3 separate regions of the Homo sapiens genome follow, and regions 2 and 3 are each linked to region 1. The links are contacts of gene promoters, found by promoter capture Hi-C in blood cells and fetal thymus (Javierre and others, 2016). All regions are on one chromosome and are shown on one strand. The core of a region is centred on a gene start or on the middle of the fragment in contact, and the rest is flanking DNA. Distances in the headings are between cores, read along the strand shown. Region 1 holds the start of PHC2 (polyhomeotic homolog 2). Region 2 has its middle 32 kb from the start of TRIM62. Region 3 overlaps ZNF362 (zinc finger protein 362).

Evidence for each region. The method cuts DNA at HindIII sites, captures the fragments that hold promoters and counts their contacts. A CHiCAGO score of 5 or more calls a contact.
Region 2: a fragment that was not itself captured here is called in contact with the fragment with the promoter of PHC2 in region 1 in 1 of 17 cell types (megakaryocytes); the score reaches 6.9 in megakaryocytes.
Region 3: a fragment that was not itself captured here is called in contact with the fragment with the promoter of PHC2 in region 1 in 11 of 17 cell types (naive B cells, M0 macrophages, monocytes and 8 more); the score reaches 9.6 in naive B cells.

What each region holds. Positions count from the first base shown.
Region 1 is chr1:33,429,273-33,432,812 of GRCh38, forward strand. PHC2 (polyhomeotic homolog 2) reads right to left here and starts at 1,823. Exons shown (of 15, transcript NM_001385109.1): 1 at 1,704-1,823. RefSeq lists a silencer at 1,507-2,026. The HindIII fragment of the contact is 9,079 bases long and covers 708-3,540 here.
Region 2 is chr1:33,211,903-33,215,442 of GRCh38, forward strand. It overlaps a transcript of ZNF362 not described here. Among named protein-coding and RNA genes, the nearest start is that of TRIM62, 32 kb to the left of the region's middle. RefSeq lists a silencer at 179-238. The HindIII fragment of the contact is 3,112 bases long and covers 338-3,449 here.
Region 3 is chr1:33,296,009-33,299,548 of GRCh38, forward strand. It overlaps ZNF362 (zinc finger protein 362), which reads left to right. Exons shown (of 9, transcript NM_152493.3): 9 at 2,922-3,540. The coding sequence ends at 3,038. Among named protein-coding and RNA genes, the nearest start is that of A3GALT2, 23 kb to the right of the region's middle. RefSeq lists a silencer at 2,763-2,943 and an enhancer at 3,375-3,540. The HindIII fragment of the contact is 2,524 bases long and covers 644-3,167 here.

The DNA of each region.
Region 1 (3,540 bases), core at 573-3,072:
AGAAAACAATAAGAAAAATATCACTGGACAACTGTGCTGGGAATAAGAAATTCTAGGCTACTTTTAGAAAGTTACATTACAGAGGAAGGAAAAAAAGCCATAGTTACAATAGAAAGCCATTCCCTAGAGATAACATATTCTTTATGTGGCTGCATTCGCTGTTCCCCCGCTTTGGCTGCCTTTTCAGTCCTTTCCAATTTTCTCTGCAAGGTAAACTCCTATTTATCCTTCAACACCTTGCTTAAATGTGTTCTCTGGAAAGCCTTCCCTGGTCCTCTCAGACAGCTAATTGTTCCCTCCTCTGTGCTTCCAAAGCCCTTTGCATTCACATCTATTATGCTGTTAATCACTTTTACTAGCAATTTCATTTGTTTCTCCTACCACTTCTTTCAGGACAAGGACTAATTATCTTATTCATCTTTGCATCCCCAAGACATAGCAGAGTGCCTGGCATATGCCAAGTATTTGTTGTTGGGTGATAAAAGACATCAAGAGCAACGTGGAAGTGGAATTTGCACTTCACTTGCAAAATCAAATTGGTTTCTGGTACTTTTCAATTGTAACCGCATTTTCTCTTGATTTAGAAGGAACGACTTTAGACTCACAAAAGAAACTCTATTGATATCACGGGCGCATTAGCCGATTTTTCATCCCCACTGGTGATAGAAATATTTTTTACCCCACACTTCCAAGAAACTCCCAGGGCAAGCTTAGTATCAGTGGCGCATCTCTCCTCCTACCATTTCTATTGTCGCAAAAGCTAAATTACACTGTGAGCCTAAAGCTGCCACCAGTCTTAGTGAATTGGGGGAGGGGGATAATTACAAGAAGACACTTCTGTAGCAGACCTGGGGAGGGGGGAAGATGAATTTAAACCTCGCCTTATAAGAAATTTGTTAGACACTCACGTAGAACAGCCGCTTCCTCCGTGTATGACAGACCCGATCCAGGTGTCCAGCAGCGACCTTTTCCCATGGGTGTCAGGTCATCACTCAGCACAGAAAACAAGGGACCAGCGCCTTTCTAGGGCATCCCTCCTTCTCCAACCTTGGGGCCCGCTTTTCCTTTAGACGACTGTTCTCTCCTCCCAGTTCCAGCAACCCCCGGTTCCCTCTGCTGGTGCCCCCCACGCCACGCTTGACTCTGGGCCGAAAGTGCCAGCGGCTGCGCTGTCACGCCGCGGCTGGGGAGCGGGCGCCCCGGTCAGGCCCGACGCCCGGGTCTCACCGCACTCTGCGGGACAAGCGGAGCAGGCGCAGGCCGCGCAAGACCACGGGCTGCCGCGGCGCGGGCCTCTCCGCAGGAGGGGGGTCGGTCCCCGGAGAAAGCGAGTCACTGACGGGACCTTGGCCCGTTCCCGTTCCGGTTCCCGTTCCCGGCAAGCCTCGGCCCCAGGCTCTCCGCAGCCCTCCTCGCTGCGCGTTCCCGGCCCGGGGGCGCCGCGCTCTGCCGGTCGCCGGCCGGGACTGCGGGCTCCCAGCGCGGGCCCCACGCCGCGGACCAGGGGTCAGGCCGCCTGCCGCCCGCCTGTCCGTGCCCATGGCAATGCCCCGCCCCGCGCGGCCCGTCCCGGCCGAGCGCTCCGGCCCGACCGTGACAGCTGGGTGCCCAAAGGGTTAAGCCGGCAGCGCGGCGGCCGGTGTCCCCCGCGCGCTGCCCGTCAGCCGCGAGCTGGCCCCAGCGCGCACGCGCCCGCCCGTTACCTGCGGTCGCCTCCGCGCTCCTCCTCCACCTGGCCGCTCTCTCCCGGGGGCCGCCCCTCAGCCCGCCCCCTCGGCTCGGCGCCGCGCACCCTGCTGGCTGCTCGGACGCTGCCCGCGGAGGAGGGGCGAGGGCGCTATTACCATATATTAGCATACCAGCGCGCGTCACGTGGCCGCTCCAGCCAATGGTCACCCTAGAAGGGCGGGGATTGGGCGGAACACGCCTTAGTGCTGCTCCCAGCCTGAACCGGTGGCCATGGCAACGGGCGGGTGGGCGGGGGAGTGGGGAGGTGCCGGAGCCCGGTGCCCCCGGGAGCATCTCCTCTACCTGAGCGCCACATGGCGACCACGCGCAGTTTTCCCACCTTGCGGATGGAGAGATTTGTCTCAGCCAGAGAGATCCAGATTCAGCCAACATTTATTGAGCACTTACCACGTGCCTTAACACTTTGCTGCAGAAAGTGATGTCTGTCCTATTAACCCCACTAGATAGTAGGGAAAGTGGAGGCTCAGAGAGGTTAGATCATTCGCTCAAGATCATACAACAACATTAAATGGCAAAAGTGGAGATCTAAGATCATTTTTGACTTCAGACCCGGGACAATCGCCAGTTTTTTCAAATCCAGCAGGGGTCTCCTAGCACCTCCTCACAATTTCAGGTGTGCTGTGCAGTTGAGAAAATCCTTGTACATAATTTGTACAGCGTTTTACTGTTTCCTTACAGTGACCTTTGAGATTAATAGGCAGAATAGTTATGCCTGTATTACAAAGGAGAGAAAATGAGGCTCAGAGAGGCCATGTGACATAATTTAGGTCAAACAGCTATTAAGAGCTAATGCTGAGTTACACTGATTTATACTGAAGCTCATTACTTTAGAAACTTTTAAATTCAGTCTTCTCAACATGGTGGAATTACTGTGACCATTCTATGGATTAAGAAACCGAGACTTTGGGAAGTTAAGCAAATTGCCCAACGTTATACAGCTAGTAAGTAGCAGATTTAGGGTTCAAATCCAGGTTTATCTGGCCCCCAAAGCTAGTCTCATTGTATCAGATTTATTTAATTTAGGATTGGACTTAGAATCCCTTCTCTAATAGAATTTTGTCTCCTCTCAAGATATGATGGTGTTACGTCTTAATCCCACAGCAAATATACCTTGTGACAAGTGACATGTGTTAAGGTCACAGAGGCTATATATTAAGAGAATAGAGTCACCAGGTAGGTAAGGGGCACTGTAGAATTCTCTGTCTTTCCTTTGTTTTTTGTTTTTTTTTGTTTGTCTGTTTTTTGTTTTTTGTTTTTTTTGAGTCCGATCTCGCTCTTGTCACCCAGACTGGAGTGCAATGGTGCGATCTTGGCTCACTGCAACCTCTGCCTGCTGGATTCAAGCTATTCTCCTGACTCAGCCTCCTGAGTAGCTGGGATTACAGGCATCTGCCACCACACCCGGCTAATTTTTGTACTTTTAGTAGAGACAGGGTTTCGCCTTGTTGGCCAGGCTGGTCTCGAACTCCTGACCTCAGGTGATCTGCCCGCCTTGGCCTCCCAAAGTGCTGGGATTACAGGCATAAGCCACCGCGTCCGGCTTATGCCTGTCTTTCCATTTTTACCTTAGGGATTTGATAGTTTAGCTAAAGGCACAGTAGTTTAAAAACACAAACATCTGTGTACAGACTTGTTTAGCTCAGTGATTCTCTAATTTTATTTATTTATTTATTTTTTAGAGACAGAATTATGCTCTGTCATCCAGGCTGGAGTGCAGTGGTGTGATCATAGCTCACTATAACATTGAACTCCTGGGTTCAAGTGATCCTCCTGCCTCAGCCTCCCGAGGAG
Region 2 (3,540 bases), core at 644-3,143, 220 kb before region 1:
TTATATTGCTGGTGGGAATATCAAATGTACATCTGAGATGGTTTTCATCTGTGTCCCCACCCAAATCTCACATTCAATTGTAATCCCTGGTGTTGGAGGTGGGATCTGGTGGGAAGTGATTGGATCACAGGGACTGTTTCTCATGGTTAACATCATCTCCCTTGGAGCTGTCATTACGATAGTGAATTCTCATGAGATCTGGTTGTTAAAAAGTGTGTAGCACCGCCGCCTTCTCTCTGTTCCTCCTGCTTCAACCATGTAAGACATGCCTGCTTCCCCTTCACCTTCCACTATGAGTCAAAGCTCCCTGAGGCCTCCCCAGAAGCAGATGCAGCCAAGCTTCCTATACAGCTTGCAGTACTGTGAGCCACTTAAACCTCTTTTCTTTATAAATTATCCAGTCCCAGGTATTTCTTCATAGCAGTGTGAGAATGACTAGTATGATAGCCATTTTGGAAAACAGTTTGGCAGTTTCTCAATAATTTACCTAGGTATCTCTAACGTATATTGAGCCATTCCACTTCTAGGTACCTATATTAGGCTATTGGTGTGTTGCTGTAAAGAAGTACCCAAGACTGGATAGTTTATAAAGAAAAGTGGTTTAATTGAGTCACAGTACTGCAGGCTGTACAGGAAGCATGGCGCTAGGCATCTGCTTGGCTTCTGGTGAGGCCTCAGGAAACTTACAATCATGGCAGAAGACAAAGGGGAAGCTGGCCTATCACATGGCAAGAGCAGGAGTAAGACAGAGAGGTGGTGGGGTGCAGTGGGGAGGTGCCACACACTTTTAAACAACCAGATCTTGTGTGAACTCATTCATCACCAAGGGAATGGCACTAAGCCATTCATGAGGGATACTCCCCCATGATCCAAACATCTCTGACCTTCAGGCCTCACCTCCAACACTGGGAATTACATTTTAACATGAGATTTGGAGAAGACAGCCGAACTATATGAGAAATGAAAGCGTACGTGCATGCAAAGATTTGTACACAAATGTTTATTGCTGCCTTATTTATAATAGTCACAATTTATTTAGAAGTAACCCTAATGTCCCAAATCCATGGATGAATGAATAAACTAAATGTGGCACATCCATACAATGGAAATGCTCCTTGGCAATAAAAAGGATAAATTTTATATGTGCAATAGCATGGCTGAATCTCAAAATAATTGTGCTGAGTGAAAGAAGATGGACAAAAAGAGTATGTATGTATTATACTATTCATATAAATTTTTAGAATTTTGTTTTGTTTTGTTTTAGATGGAGTCTCACTCTGTTGCCCAGGCTGGAGTGCAGTGGTGCGATCTTGGCTCCTGACCTCAGGTGACCCACCCACCTCAGCCTCCTAAAGTGCTGAGATTACAGGCATGAGCCACTACGCCCAGCCTGAAGTTCATTTTCTTAATCACGGCGATGATTTCACAGATGCATACATATATACATAACAACCTCTCAAAATTGTTCACTTTAAGTATGGGCAGTTTATTGTTTGTCAATTGTATTTCAATAAATCAGTTAGAAAAAATCCCAGAAGAAGGGTGGGAAGCAGTAAAGTGAACAAAGAAGCTGGTAAATGTGTTGGTGAATTTAAATAAGTATTGATTACTATAGTAATAATAATAATAATTACTATTTTGGGGGTTTTAAAACAAGATTGAGGCCAGGCGTGTTGGCTCACGCCTGTAATCCAAGCACTTTGGGAGGCCGAGGCGGGTGGATCACGATGTCAAGAGATCGAGACCATCCTGGCCAACATGGTGAAACCCCATCTCTACTAAAAATATAAAAATTAACTGGGCGTGGTGGCATGTGCCTGTAGTCCCAGCTACTTGGGAGGCTGAGGCAGGAGAATCGCTTGAACCCGGGAGGCAAAGGTTGCAGTGAACTGAGATCACGCCACTGCACTCCAGCCTGGCAACAGACAGAAACTCTGTCTCAAAAAAACCAAAGCAAACCAAAACAAAACAAAACAAAAAAAACAAAACAACAACAACAACAAAAAACAAGATTGAACGAAAACACCTGATTTTGTATTGGTTTGGAAAAGTCTAGGGATTTTACTGAGTTCTAGATTTTAAGAGTGCATGATGTATACTTAACTTCATGCTAGTTCAGGGAAAAAAAGAATAGAATTAAAAAGAAATCAATCCAATTAAAAATGTGAAATAAGAAAAAAGAAGCAAATAAAAAGCATGTAAATTGAAAGACACAAAATAAGATAGAAGCTGAAGCCATGGGAAAACATACAGGAATAGCTGAATGCACACCCCTAAAAATTCCTATGGGACATCTACAGTGAACTCATTTTTCACAAAGGTGCTAAGAACATTCACTGGGGAAAGGAAAGTCTCTTCAATATTTGGAGCTAGGAAAACAGGATCTCCATATGCAGAAGAATGAAAGTAGACCCCTATCTCTTGCCATATACAATAATCAAGTAAGAATGGATTAAAGACTTAAATCTAAGACCCCAACTGTGAAACTACTAAAAGGAAACATTGGGAAAACTCTCTAGGACATTGGTCTGGGCAAAGATTTCTCAAATAATACCTCAAAGGCACAGACAACCAAAGCAAAAACGGACAAATGAGATCACATCCAGCTAAAAATCTTCTGCACAGCAAAGGAAACAATCAGCAAAGTAAAGAGACAACTCACACAATGAAAGGCAATATTTGCAAACTACCCATCTGAAAGGGATTAACAACCAGAATATATAAGGAGCTCAGACAACTTGATCAGAAAAAATGAAGTAATTGGATTAAAAAGTGGGCAAAAGATCCAAATAGATATTTCTCCAAAGAAGACCTACAAATGATTGATAGGTGTTTGAAAAAAATGCTCAACATTATTAATCATCAGAGAAATGCAAATGAAAACTACAATGAGATATCATCTCACCCCAGTTAAAATGGCTTTCACTCAAAAGACAGGCAATAACAAATACTGGTGAGGATATGGTGAAAGGGGAACCCTCGTACACTGTTGGGAGTGTAAATTAGTATAGTCACTATGGAGAGTAGTTTGAAGGTTCCTCAAAAAAACTAAAGATAGAACTACCATATGATCTAGCAATTCCACTAGTAGGTATACATCCAAATAAAGGAAAGTAGTGTATTGATTAGATATCTGCGCTCCCATGTTTATTGCAGCACTGTGCACAATAGCCAAGATTTGGAATCAATCTAAGTGTCCCCAAATAGATGAATAAATAAAGAAAATGTTGTACATGTACACAGTGGAATATTATTCATCCATAAAAATAATTAAATTCTGTCATTTGCAACAACATGGATGGAACTGGAAGACATTATGTAAGTGAAATAAGCCAGGCACAGAAAGACAAATTTCTCATGTTCTCACTTATATGTGGGAGCTAAAAATTAAAACAATTGAACTCATGAAGATAGAGAGTAGAATGATGGTCACCAAAGGCTGAGAAGGAAGCTTGGGGTAGGGTGGGGTAGGGGAGAATGGTTAATGGGCACAAAAATATACTTATATAGAATGAATAATATCCTAGTATTTTAGTATTT
Region 3 (3,540 bases), core at 656-3,155, 130 kb before region 1:
ACTTCTGCCTGGTGCTCGGGCATTGGGATGAGCCAGACAGATCTATTTTTTGTCCCCAGGGAAATTAAGAACTGTTGGAGACAAGTATTAAACAAGTACACACGTAACTGTTTGACGGGAAATTGTGTAGCTGCTGTAAAGCAGAGACTCTCGGCCCTAGTCCAGATGGACATTTGGGCCGGACCTTTCCACTGTGGGCGCTGGCCTGCACGTGGCAGGGCTCTGAGCAGCATTCCAGGCCTCCATCCGCTAGATGCCAGTAGCAACCGCTCCCCAAGTGGTGACAGCCAAAAAATGTCTTCAGGGATGACACAGAGGGGCTGAGCTGCAGGGCCATGCCGTCCTGCATTCTGGAGTCCTGCATCCTGGGGGACAGCATGGCCCTGAAGCTCTGTCCCTCTGTGTCCTCCCTGGGAGCTCCTTTTGTCCCTGCCACTCCTGGGTTCTCATCCTGGCTCTTTGTCCCTGGGGGGCAAAATCACCTCAATTGAGAACCACTGTGATAAAAGTGTGTTTTGAAAGACAGCAGGGAGGACACAATGGAGCTGGGAAGGGGGATGAGTCCAGATTGACCACCTGGAGGAGCAACACTTAGGTGAAGCCTTGAAGGATAATTGGATGAGGAGGAGAAAGAGGGGAAAGAAGCTTCCATGCAGGCGAACACTGAGTGCGAACCCCCTGAGGGGTAACAAACTTGGCACGTTACAAGAACTCAAAGGAAATTAGGTCAGTTGGGGCCTTGGGGCTCTGTTAGAAAAGTTTGGATATTTTTTCAGGTGGAATGGGAAGCTACAGGGAGGGGACTGTCAGGAAGGGTTTTTTTTTTTTTTTTTTGGTATATTTTAGAGACGGGGTCTTGCTATGTTGCCCAGGCTGGAATCAAAATCCTGGGCTCAAGGGATCCTCCTGCTTCAACCTCCAGAGTAGCTGGGGCTACAGGTGTGCACCACTGTGCCTGGCAGGGAAGGTATTTTTGCAAGGTCACTCTGGCTGGAGGCTGTTCATGGATCATAGGTGGGGTTGTTGGCAGTACTTGTCAGGTGCCGGGCAGGGCTGCCACTTGCTAAGTGCTGAGTCTGTAACATTTATTCTTCCCTGGAGTTCAAAGGGCAGAGGAGGGTCAGGAGGCGAAGAGGACAGAATCTGCAGGGAAAAGGGCTCCAAAGGGGTGAGCAGGAGCCCTCGCTTGGCTAGCTGATCTCCAGTCAGTCCCTGCCTCTCTCCAAGGCTCAAGTTTTCCATAACCTCCTACACCATCAACCAATCCTGCCTCATCCATACTCCTATTTTTTGAAGTACAATCCAGACATCATACTATTTCTAAAAATTGCACTTTATCTCTCTGATAAAGACTCCTTTTTTGAGCATATCCACAATACCTTTGGAATATCAAAAAGTAATTAACCAAAGTCCTTATCATCATCAGATACTCAAATACCCGTTCAGCATTGACATTTTCATTTGTGTCACGAATGCCATGATTTGGTGTATTTACATGATTCCTCTTTTTTTTTTTTTTTTTGAGACGGAGTCTTGCTCTGTCACCCAGGTGGAGTGCAGTGGCACAGTCTCAGCTCACTGCAACATCCGCCTCCCAGGTTCAAGCGATTCTCCTGCCTCAGCCTCCCGAGTAGCTGGGAATACAGGCATGTGCCACTATGGCCACCTAATGTTTTTGTATCTTTAGTAGAGACGGGGTTTCACCATGTTGGCCAGGCTGGTCTCGAATTCCTGACCGCAGGTGATCCGCCCGCCTCAGTCTCCCAAAGTGCTGGGATTATAGGCATGAGCCACCGTGCCCAGCCTACATTATTCTTTTTAGATCAAGATCCAAATAAGATTCCTGCATCGTAGTAGCTCAGTAGATCTTTTAATCTCTAGGTCCCCTTACCCCCACTTTTTTTCTTTGTTATTTATTCACTGAAGAATAGTTTCCTAGCTAGGAATTTGCAGGTTGCTTCCCTCTGGTATTGGATAGCATGTTGCCGCCACATTTGAGGGCTTCCTCTGCTGGGTTCTGAGCATATTGAGGTCTGAAGTCAAGGAGTGGCAGGTGGGAGTACCGCCTCTGCTTCTGGCAAAGGCGATTGGAAGGATGTGGCTTAGTGTGAGGGCTTCTGGGCCTGCAGTGAGCCCTGGGTCACAACCTCACCTACCCAGTCCTGGTGCCTCAGGTCAGATCCAGCAGAGCCAGTGGAGGACATGATAGTACCCACCTGTAGTCCCAGCTACTTGGAGGGCTGAGGTGGGAGAACTGCTTGAGCCCAGGAGGTTGAGGCTGTGGTGAGCTGTGATTGTGCCACAGCATTCCAGCCTGGGCGACACAGTGAGACCTTAAGAAAAGGAAGGAAAGGAAATGTAGAGACTGGGGCAGGAGTGGACCCTTCAACCCTTACTCCATGCTAAGGGCTTGATCTTTGTCACCACAGCAACCTGTTGAGGTTGTTCCTCCCCTATGCCTGCTTACAGAGGAGGAAACTGAGGCTCAGAGAGACAAGATGACTTGTCCAAGTTCTCACCACTAAGAAAGAGCAGAGCTAGGCTCAGACCCAGTCCTGCTGCCTCACTGTCACTGGGATCACCAGCCAGATGCAGGCACAGTGCTTCACCTGGCAGACAGGGCTGAGGTTCAGCCAGTATACCCAGCTACATCCAGGTGGCAAGGGCCTGGGGGCCTGGCCCTGGAGAGCCACAGGTGGGCATTGCTGAGGGGTGAGCTCTCCAGCCAGCACTCATACTGGCAGCAGTGCAGTGTCTCTAGAACCAATGGCCGACGCCCATCTGACCCTGCAAAACTGTGGCTGTCCTCCACCCTCTGAACCGCCTACCAAGAGCCCTCCAGTGGCTGCTGGTGGGAACTGCAGCCTCTTCTCCCTCCCTTGCTGGTGGTTCCCTGTTCTGAATCTCATCCCTGCCCACAGGAGACCTACCTGATGAAGCACATGTCCAAACACACGGTGGTGGAGCACCTGGTGAGCCATCACTCGCCCCAGAGGACGGAGTCCCCCGGCATCCCGGTGCGAATCTCTCTCATCTGAGCCCACTGGAGGCGCCGCCCCACCCGGCCCACTGGCAGACACAGACCCAGGCAGCACCAGGCCCCAGCTCCCTCCGGGGGCCCTCCAGGAACCACCAAGCTCTCTCACGACCTTCCCAATCTTCCAGAAAGCTTGGTCCGCAGAAGCCCTGCCTGGTCCAGTCCGGGGGCGGCCAGGCCAACTGCAAGATTCTGGACTGTTTTGGTGGCATCCAAAGACGATCTCAGAGCACTTTGAACCTCTCTGTTGAGTTTTCTTTTTGTTCCCCACCCTTCACTTGCTTCACTGTTTTTTTTTTTTTCGTTTTTTTTTTTTAAGTTTGTTTTGGAAATAACAGAAAAGATATTTATTGGCCAGGAAGTTGGTGCTGCTAAGACCGAGAAATTTAAAGAATCGGACAGATGGACGCAGAGAACCAGAGGGCAATGTGGGACCTTCTCTTGCCATGGCCTCAGGTCTTGAGGGAAGGCTCGGGCCTAGGTTTCTGGACTGCAAAGGGGAC